Regions from separate parts of the Homo sapiens genome. Here region 1 is linked to region 2. The links are contacts of gene promoters, found by promoter capture Hi-C in blood cells and fetal thymus (Javierre and others, 2016). All regions are on one chromosome and are shown on one strand. The core of a region is centred on a gene start or on the middle of the fragment in contact, and the rest is flanking DNA. Distances in the headings are between cores, read along the strand shown. Region 1 overlaps SFXN2 (sideroflexin 2). Region 2 holds the start of PCGF6 (polycomb group ring finger 6).

What was found. Contacts are between HindIII fragments. The CHiCAGO score rates a contact against its expected background, and 5 or more counts as called.
Region 1: a fragment that was not itself captured here is called in contact with the fragment with the promoter of PCGF6 in region 2 in 1 of 17 cell types (M0 macrophages); the score reaches 5.1 in M0 macrophages.

Annotation. Positions count from the first base shown.
Region 1 is chr10:102,738,489-102,742,848 of GRCh38, reverse strand. SFXN2 (sideroflexin 2) reads right to left here. Exons shown (of 12, transcript NM_178858.6): 12 at 1-4,360. Among named protein-coding and RNA genes, the nearest start is that of WBP1L, 3.3 kb to the left of the region's middle. The HindIII fragment of the contact is 3,345 bases long and covers 1,375-4,360 here.
Region 2 is chr10:103,348,581-103,353,370 of GRCh38, reverse strand. It overlaps PCGF6 (polycomb group ring finger 6), which reads left to right and starts at 2,231. Exons shown (of 10, transcript NM_001011663.2): 1 at 2,231-2,664; 2 at 4,372-4,471; 3 at 4,559-4,655. The coding sequence starts at 2,305. RefSeq lists a silencer at 2,103-2,332 and an enhancer at 2,498-3,003. The HindIII fragment of the contact is 2,980 bases long and covers 1,731-4,710 here.

The DNA of each region.
Region 1 (4,360 bases), core at 1,798-4,297, 610 kb after region 2:
AGGTCTTTCTTCTTCTTCTTTTAAAGCCTATAATATCCTGTACAAGGCTCAACCAGAGCTTGATCAATGTTGGTAAAATAGCCAGGTGTGGTGGCTCATGCTTATAATCCTAGCCCTTTGGGAGGCTGAGGCAGGTAGATCCCTTGAGCTCAGGAGTTTGAAACCAGCCTGGGCAACATGGAGAGAACCCTGTCTCTACAAAAATAAAAAAACTAAATTAGCCAAATTAGCCAAGCATGGTGGTGCACACTTGTAGTCCCAGCTACTTGGGAGGCTGAGGTGGGACAATCACCAGAGCTAGGGAGATTGAAGCTGCAATGAGCCTTGATTGTGCCACTGTACTCCAGCCTGGGCAACAGAGTGAGACCCTGTCTCAAAAAAAAAAAAAGGCCAGGTGCGGTGGCTCCTGCCTGTAATCCCAGCACTTTGGGAGGCCGAGGTGGGCGGATCACATGGTCAGGAGTTCGAGCCTGGCCAACATTGTGAAACCCAATCTCTACTAAAAATACAAAAAATTAGCCAGGCGTGGTGGTGCATGCCTGTAGTCCCAGCTACTCAGGAGGCTAAAGCAGAAGAATCGCTTGAACCTGGGAGGCAGAGGTTGCAGTGAGCCAAGACTGTGCCACTGCACTCCACCCTAGGTGACAGAGTGAGACTCTGTCTCAAAAAAAAAAGAAAAAAAAAAGTTGGTAAAATAAATGGACAAAGGAAGACCCATGGCAAATAACACAGTTGACTTTAGCAGTCAATTTCCTCTCAAAAACCTGTCAAAGTGTTTTACAGCCTGGCCCAGTCTAGCCCACATCTGAGCCCAGAGGAAGTTGTTCTTGGCTTAAGTGTTGGAAAAATGGGAAACAGGTAAGAGTTAAGTCAGTCTTCCCTCAGCTTAAGAAAGTCCATAGTTCTGCCTTTATCTTGATCCTGCTTTTCCAAGTACTATAAAAAGTGACACGTATTTTTGCCAATCTCTCGTTTCTTAGAAATTTATCCATTCCACAAGTCAAGCTCCTTAGAGGAGAAGTAAAAATTGAGTACTAGGGAAGGACCAAATTATTTTCATGGCACAAGGTCTCTAATTCCTGGCCTCAAAAAGTTGTAAGTCTTCCACATAAAGGCTAGGTTTCATCATCACTAAGAAACCCCAGGTGGGATGTAGTGGCTCACGCCTGTAATCCCAACACTTTGGGAGGCCAAGGCATGAGGATTGCTTGAGGTCAGGGGTTCAAGACCAACCTGGGAAACATAGTGAGGCCCTCTGTCTACAAAAAATTTAAAAATTAGCTGGGCATGGTGGCATGTACCTGTAGTCAGGAAACCTTTAGGATTCTGGTTCTAGCCAGGATTGAGGAAAAGACCTTGGATCAAAAGGAAGCTTCTATACCTCTTCTTCTTCCCTTCCTCCTCCTCTCCCGAGCAATGGAACCTTTTACCCATGCTATTCTAGCCGAACTCAGGAAAAAGAAGCTACTCGGGAGGCTAAGGCAGGAGGATCACTTGAGTCCAGGAGGCTGAGGAAGCAATGAGTCATGATCATACCATTGCACTCCAGCCTGGGCAAGAAAGTGATACCCTCTTTCTCTCAATAAATAAGAAACCCCAATTCAGTTTGGCAAACACAGGGGATTTTGCCCCAACTTCCCTTTCTCCTTTTACCTGAAAGCTCAAGCTGAGCTATTGGATAGGACAGTCTGGATTAGCACTTCCCACACCAAGGCCTTTTAGTAACCTTAACTGCCTCTTATTCAACATCCCACAGCAGCCAACTCAAAGAAGAGAGATGTTACAAAATGAGACTGAGATGCAGTTTGAGTGACCACTTTTTAGAATGTCCCTGAACATTATAGCCACCACATACCTTCCAGACATTTCCAAAAGAGCAGTTGTCTATAAGAGAACAGGAAATCCAAGAGGCTTGAGGAGCTGAGAAGGAAGGGGAAACATTGTATGTTCTGAAAGAACATCAGTCAGGAGTTGTTTCCAAGCTCTACTGGCTCTGGTAATGTTTCCCTTTTCCTATTTGCTTTTGGAAATAAAGCCAGGTCTCCTGTCCTAAAGAAGCTAGCTCAAAGACAGACTTTTCTGTTCAGACACCAGCTAAAATCAAATTGCATATGCTACAACATGGATGAACCTTGAAAACATTATCCTAAGGAAAGAAACCAGACACAGAGGGCCACATACTGCATTACTCCACTTACATGAAATGTTCAGAATACGCAAATCTCTAAAGACAGGAAGTGAATTGTGAGGCGCTGGCAGGTAGGGAGAATGTGGAGTGACTGCCAATGGGTATGGGGTTTCTTTTGGGGCTAAGAAAAATGTTCTGAGACCAGATGCAGTGGCTCATGTGTGTAATTCCAACACTTTGGAAGGCTGAGGGAGGAGGATCACTTGAGGCCATGAGTTCGAGACCAGCCTGGGGCAACATAGTGAGACCTCATCAAAAAAATCAAATTAGCCTGTGGTCCCAGCTACCCCAGAGGCTGAGGCAGGAGGATTACTTGAGCTCAGGAGGTTGAGGCTGCAATGAGCAGTGATTGCACTACTGCACTCCAACCAGGGTAACAGAGTGAGATCCTGTCTCAAAATAATTCTGGAATTAGTGGTGATGCTTGTACAACTTTGTGACTACATTAAAAACCACTGAATTGTACACTTTAAAAGGACTAAGTTTATGGTATGTGAGTTATATTTTAACTTTTTTAAACGGGGAGAAAAATCAAGTTGCAGTGAATTCCTTGGCCTCGGGGAGGAGGCCCTTTCCCCTTAGAGCAGTGCTCCTCCACGTATGGTGCCAAGACCAACAGAATCAGCATCACCGGGCAATGACTAGAAATGCACGTTCTCAGGCTCCAGCCCAGAGTGACAGAATCTGGCAATGGATCCTGCAATCTGTGCTTTAACAAGCCTGCCAGCTAATTCTGATGTGTTTTCTTTTTTTTTTTTGAGACGGAGTCGCCCAGGTTGGAGTGCAGTGGCGCAATCTTGGCTCACCACAACCTCCACCTCCCAGGTTCAAGTGATTCTCCAGTCTCAGCCCCCCGAGTAGCTGGGATTACAGGTGTATGCCACCACACCCAGCAAATTTTTTGTATTTTTAGTAGAGATCGGGTTTCACCATGTTGATCAGGCTGGTCTCGAACTCCTGACCTCAGGTGATCCACCTGCCTCGGCCTCCCAAAGTGTGGGGATTACAGGCATGAGCCACTGCGCCCGGTTGATGCATGTGCTTAAGAACCACTGCTCCAGGGCAGGGGAAACTTTTTGTGTCAAGGATCAGACAGTAAATATTTTAGGCTTTGTATGCCACATAGGTAGGGTCTCTGTCATTCCTGTTGTTCCCTTTTACAACTCTTTAAAAATGTAAAAACATTCTTAGCTTCCAATTGCACAAAAACAGGTGGCAGGTGGATTTGGCCCCTTGAGCCATAGCTTGCCAACTCTTGCTCTAGGGCAACACAGCTCCCATTCTGGGAGATCTGGAGCTTCCTGTGGAGACAGGTGGATTTCCCCTTTAATGAGGGAAATAAACAACAGCCTCCAGGCATCAGACAAGTTCCCCTTATATAGTAGTTGTGATACCTTCTGACATGCCAAGGCCAAAGTAAGGCCAGATCCTGCTTTCCATTCAGGCTTCATTAACTTAGTTTACAGTTTGTGTGTATGTGTGCCTGTGTGCTCTTTCAACAAATTTATTCAATTCACAGTGATATCTGTTGGACAGAGTCAGCAATCCTACCAGACAAAACTCATACACACATTGATTCCAGATGAGAAACAACAGTCCCCCAAGGAGCTTGAGAAATCACCTAGGGCAGCCAAGCTGGGGAAGGGAAGTGGCTGTGCATTGCTGTGTGTCCTTTAAGGCTCTTTGGTCCTGGTTGATTTCCTCTTAGAAGGTTCCAAATAAAACTTCCCTTTCCTATTCAGTACACACCAGTCTTTCTTTGGTGTTTAACCTAATGGGCTGAGGAAGGGAGGCAGCCAGGAAATTATACCCATTAAAGTGTGTGGTTAATGCCTATATATATCATTTTTACTCACAGTTAGTGGACTTATCTTTTAAAACAGAGGTATGTGGCAGTGGGGTAAGAGAACTTCCCTTATTATAGAGAAGATTCCAAGAATAGGTTCAGACATGATTTGAAGAACCATGTAACTCTGCTGCCTTGCACGGTCCCCTTTTTAGCACTAATAACTCCTAAGTGTCTGATAATTTCAAGGTTAGCAGCACTCCCAAAGAAGCTGTCCGGGCTGGGTGTGGTGGCTCATGCCTGTAATCCCAGCAATTTCAGAGGCTGAGGCGGGCGGATCACCTGAGGTCAGGAGTTCGAGACCAGTCTGGCCAGCATGGTGAAAC
Region 2 (4,790 bases), core at 982-3,481:
TCTTGGGTCTTGCAGACTTCAGTATCTCAAACTTGACCAGACGTTGGGACTGGAGAAGGAGAGGTGGGGTCTGGTCCAGAAGCAATGGGAATACTTAACTTGGTTCACTGTTCCCCAAGGAAACACCATGACTTGATTTCCTCATCAATTCCCTAGACAACACATTCAGCATTTTCTTTTTTTTGTTGTTGTTAGACCGGGTCTCGCTCTGGCGCCCAGGCTGGCAATGAGCTACCACCCCTGGCACACATTCAGCTATTTTATTTTATTTTATTGTATTTTAATTTTTTGAGACGGAGTCTCACTCTGTCGCCCAGGCTGGGGTGCAGTGGTGCGATCTCGGCTCACTGCAACCTTCGCCTCCCGGGTTCAAGTGATTCTCCTGCCTCAGCCTCCTGAGTAGCTGGGATTACAAGTGTGCACCACCATGCCCGGCTAATTTTCGTATTTTTAGTAGAGATGGAGTTTCACCATGTTGGTCAGGCTGGTCTCAAACTCCTGACCTCGTTACCCGCCCAACTCAGCCTCCCAAAGCATTGGGATTACAGGCATGAGCCACCTCGCTTGGCCATATTTTTAAAATTTATTTTTTTTTTGAGATGGAGTCTTGCTCTTGTTGCCCAGGCTGGAGTGCAGTGGTGTGATCTCGGCTCACCGCAACCTCCACCTCGTCTGTGTTCAAGTGATTCTCCTGCCTCAGCCTCTCGAGTAGCTGGGATTACAGGCATGCGCCACCATGCCCGGCTAATTTTGTATTTTTAGTAGAGATGGGGTTTCTCCATGTTGGTCAGGCTGGTCTCTAACTCCCAACCTCAGGCAATCCGCTTGCCTCAGCCTCCCAAAGTGCTGGGATTACAGGCGGGAGCCACTGTGCCTGGTCACATTCAGCTCTTAAATGTGACTTTGCCAGGCATTATTTGATTAGGAGCATTTGACTTCCCGAATCTTTCTTGCAGGCATCGTGACATTAGCTGGCATTATCTTAGCAAGGATAATGGTTTTTTTGTTTTTTGTTTTGTTTTGTTTTGTTTTGTTTTGTTTTGAGATGGAGTCTCACTCTGTAGCCCAGGCTGGAGTGCAGTGGCACGATCTTAGCTCACTGCAAGCTCCGCCTCCTGGGCTCAAGTGATTCTTCTGCCTTAGCCTCCCAAGTAGCTGGGATTACAGGCACGCGCCACCATGCCCAGCTAATTTTTGTATTTTTAGTAGAGACGGGGTTTCACCATGTTGGCTAGGCTGGTCTTGAACTCCTGACCTCATGATCTGCGCGCCTCGGCCTCCCAAAGTGCTGGGATTACAGGTGTGAGCCACCGCGCCCGGACTAGCAAGAATAATGTTAAGCCAACTCCAAACCTCTCTTAATAAAATTGGGCAATGGGGTGGGTTGTACCTGGGTGGGTCTGAGTTTCTGCTACAGTAGGCCCTCAATAAATGTTTGTTGGGCCCGGCGCCCTGGCTCAGGCCTGTAACCCAACACTTTGGGAGGCTGAGGCGGGTGGATCACCTGAGATCAGAAGTTTGAGACTAGCCTGGTCAACATGGTGAAACCCTGTCTCTACTGAAAATACAAAAGTTAGCTGGGCGTGGTGGCAGGCGCCAGTAGTCCCAGCTGCTTGGGAGCCTGAGGCAGAATCGCTTGGACCCGGGAGGCGGAGGTTGCAAGTGAGCGCCACTGCACTCCTGCCTGAGCGACAAGAGCGAAACTGTCTCAAAAAAAAAAAAAAAAAGCTTTTCGAATTCAATATAATGGGCTTTATGGGATGGGGTGACATGGATGATCTTTGAGTAGTGATTAGATTTTCACCTTGTATCAATACACTATATAATTCCTTAAAATAAATAAACGTACATACTTCAGAACAGGAACTTTATACTTCCTAAGGGAAATAATCTTGGATGGAGGTGATTTGCCACAGAGGAAATGCATAATTGGTACTCAAGTGGAAATGATTATTATTTGTGATGCAACGTCACATGCTACCTAGTTCAGTGCTCTGTGAATTAGGTGATGCAAACAGAATATTGTTGCTTGGAACGGTAGCAATTTTGCTGTTTTTAAAAGGCGGCGAAGAGAGCGTCCCCTTCCAAGGAGAAAATCTGGTGAGATTCCTTTAAAGTGCGGCCCGCGCGCCCCGCAGCCTGCCCCGGAGCTGCAGGGTTTGCGCCCCGCGGAGGTGAGGGCCGCTAAACCACATTTCCCGGCGAGCCCCTCAGGCTGCCGCGCCTGCGCAGTGGTGGCGTCCGAGGCCGGCCGAACTCCCGCGCTCTCCCGCCGCCTCGCCTCGCCTGGTGTCTCTCCCGACCATGGAGGGGGTCGCGGTGGTGACGGCGGGCAGCGTAGGCGCTGCCAAAACCGAGGGAGCTGCAGCCTTGCCGCCTCCGCCTCCTGTCTCCCCGCCCGCCCTCACCCCTGCACCCGCAGCGGGTGAGGAGGGACCGGCGCCTCTGTCTGAGACGGGGGCTCCCGGCTGCTCCGGCTCCCGGCCCCCTGAGCTGGAGCCGGAGCGCAGCCTGGGCCGCTTCAGAGGCCGCTTCGAGGACGAGGACGAGGAGTTGGAAGAAGAAGAGGAGCTGGAGGAGGAAGAAGAGGAGGAGGAGGAGGACATGAGTCACTTCTCGTTGAGGCTGGAGGGAGGCCGGCAGGACTCGGAGGACGAGGAGGAGGTATTTAGAGCCCCCGCGCGACCCCGCTGGGCCCAAGCGGCGTCAGGGACGTAGCTGGCCCTCGTCTGCCGGGCGCCGGCCCGATCCTAGTGCGCCGCCGCCGCGCGGAGCACTGGAGCGGACCTCCCCCGACCTCTGCCCCGGCTGCCTAGGCGTGTGGCGCCGACAGGCCTCCGGCCCGGCCTGGGTCTTTACCCGCTTATTTTGTGAAGTTCTTGCAGGTCACTTAGGCTCTGCGAGTCCAACTCATTCGTTCTGTTAATAATTATAATTATTTTGAGACAGGGTCTCCCAGGCTGGAGTGCAGTGGCGCGACCATGGCTCACTGCAGCCTCCAACTCCTGGCCTCAGGCGATCCTCCCGCCTCAGCCTCCGGAGTAGCTGGGACTACAGGCACGCGCCACCACGCCGGGCTAATTAAACATTTTTTTTTTTTTTTGTAGCGAGGAGGGCTCCCTATGTTCCCAGGCTGTTCTCGAACTCCTGGGTTCAAGAGATTCTCCCTCTCTGGCCTTCCGAAAGATTACATGCGTGAGCCACGTTGCCTGTCCTGTATAATTATTGAAGCTACTGCTTACTAGGCAGTAAAGATCCTTTTGTTTTGTTTTGTTTTGTTTTGTTTTTGAGACGGAGTCTCGCTCTGTCGCCCAGGCTGGAGTGCAGTGGCGCGATCTCGGCTCACTGCAACCTCCGCCTCCCAGGTTCAAGCGATTCTCCAGCCTCAGCCTTTAGAGTAGCTGGGACTACAAGGCGCCCGCCACCACGCCCGGCTTATTTTTTGTATTTTTAGTAGAGACGGGGTTTCACCGTGTTAGCCAGGATGGTCTCGATCTCCTGACCTCGTGATCCGCCCGCCTCGGCCTCCCAAAGTGCTGGGATTACAGGCGTGAGCCACTGCGCCCAGCGTAAAGATCCTTTTGAAACAATAATTTGGCTGGGCGCGGTGTGGCTCACGCCTATAATCCCCGCACTTTGGGAGGCCGAGGCAGGCGAAACACGAGGTCAGGAGTTCAGCCTGACCAAAGCGGTGAAACCCCTTCTCTACTGAAAATACAAAAAGTAGCGGGGCGTGGTGGCACGCGCCTGTAATCTCAGCTACTCAGGAGGCTGAGGTAGGAGAATCACTTGAATCTGGGAGGCGGAGGTTGCAGTGAGCCGAGATCTTGCCGCTGCACTCCAGTCTGGGCGACAGAGGCAGACTCCCTCTCAAAAAAAAAAAAAAAAAAACGGAAAGAAAGAAACAATAATTTATATTGTGTTATTATTGTAACTTTCAGTAGTCTTTTAATGGGTTGGAGGTGTATGTTTCCATGTTGCAATGACATTTTGAGATTATGGTTTAAGGTTTTGAAGAAGGTGGACTGAGCGCGGTGGCTCATGCTTGTAATCCTAGCACTTTGGGAGGCCTTGGCGGGTGGATCACCTGAGGCCAGGGGTTCGAGACCAGCCTGGCCAACATGGTGAAACCCCATCTCTACTAAAAATACAAAAATTAGCCAGGCGTGGTTGTGCGCGCCTGTAATCCCAGCTACTCGGGAGGCTGAGACAGGAGAATCGCTTTAATCCAGGAGGCGGAGGTTGCAGTGAACCGAGATGACATCACTGCACTCAGCTTGGGCTACAGAGTGAGACTCTGTCTCAAAAAAAAAAAAAGAATTTGTAAAAGGCAAGGACTTGTATTTTAAAACTGTTTCCGTTTATTTGCAGCGCCTGATTAATCTCTCTGAGCTGACCCCATACATCTTGTGTTCCATTTGCAAAGGTTACTTAATAGATGCAACTACCATCACAGAATGTCTTCATACCTGTAAGCATACCGATCACATTTCTGAATAATTTTTCAGTTTTTGAAATGTCTTGAAAGCATCCTGACTTCAACATTCTTTTTCAACAGTTTGTAAAAGCTGCATCGTAAGACATTTTTACTACAGCAACAGATGTCCAAAATGCAATATAGTAGTACATCAGACACAACCTCTTTATAACATAAGGTAAGAAGAATATATAAATTACAATTGTATTTTAAATATACTTTTTCTGAAAGCTTGAAGTTATATAGTTGGAATAAATTATTGACCTCTCAGGATGGGTTCAGTGGCTAATGCCATAATCCCAGCACTTTGGGA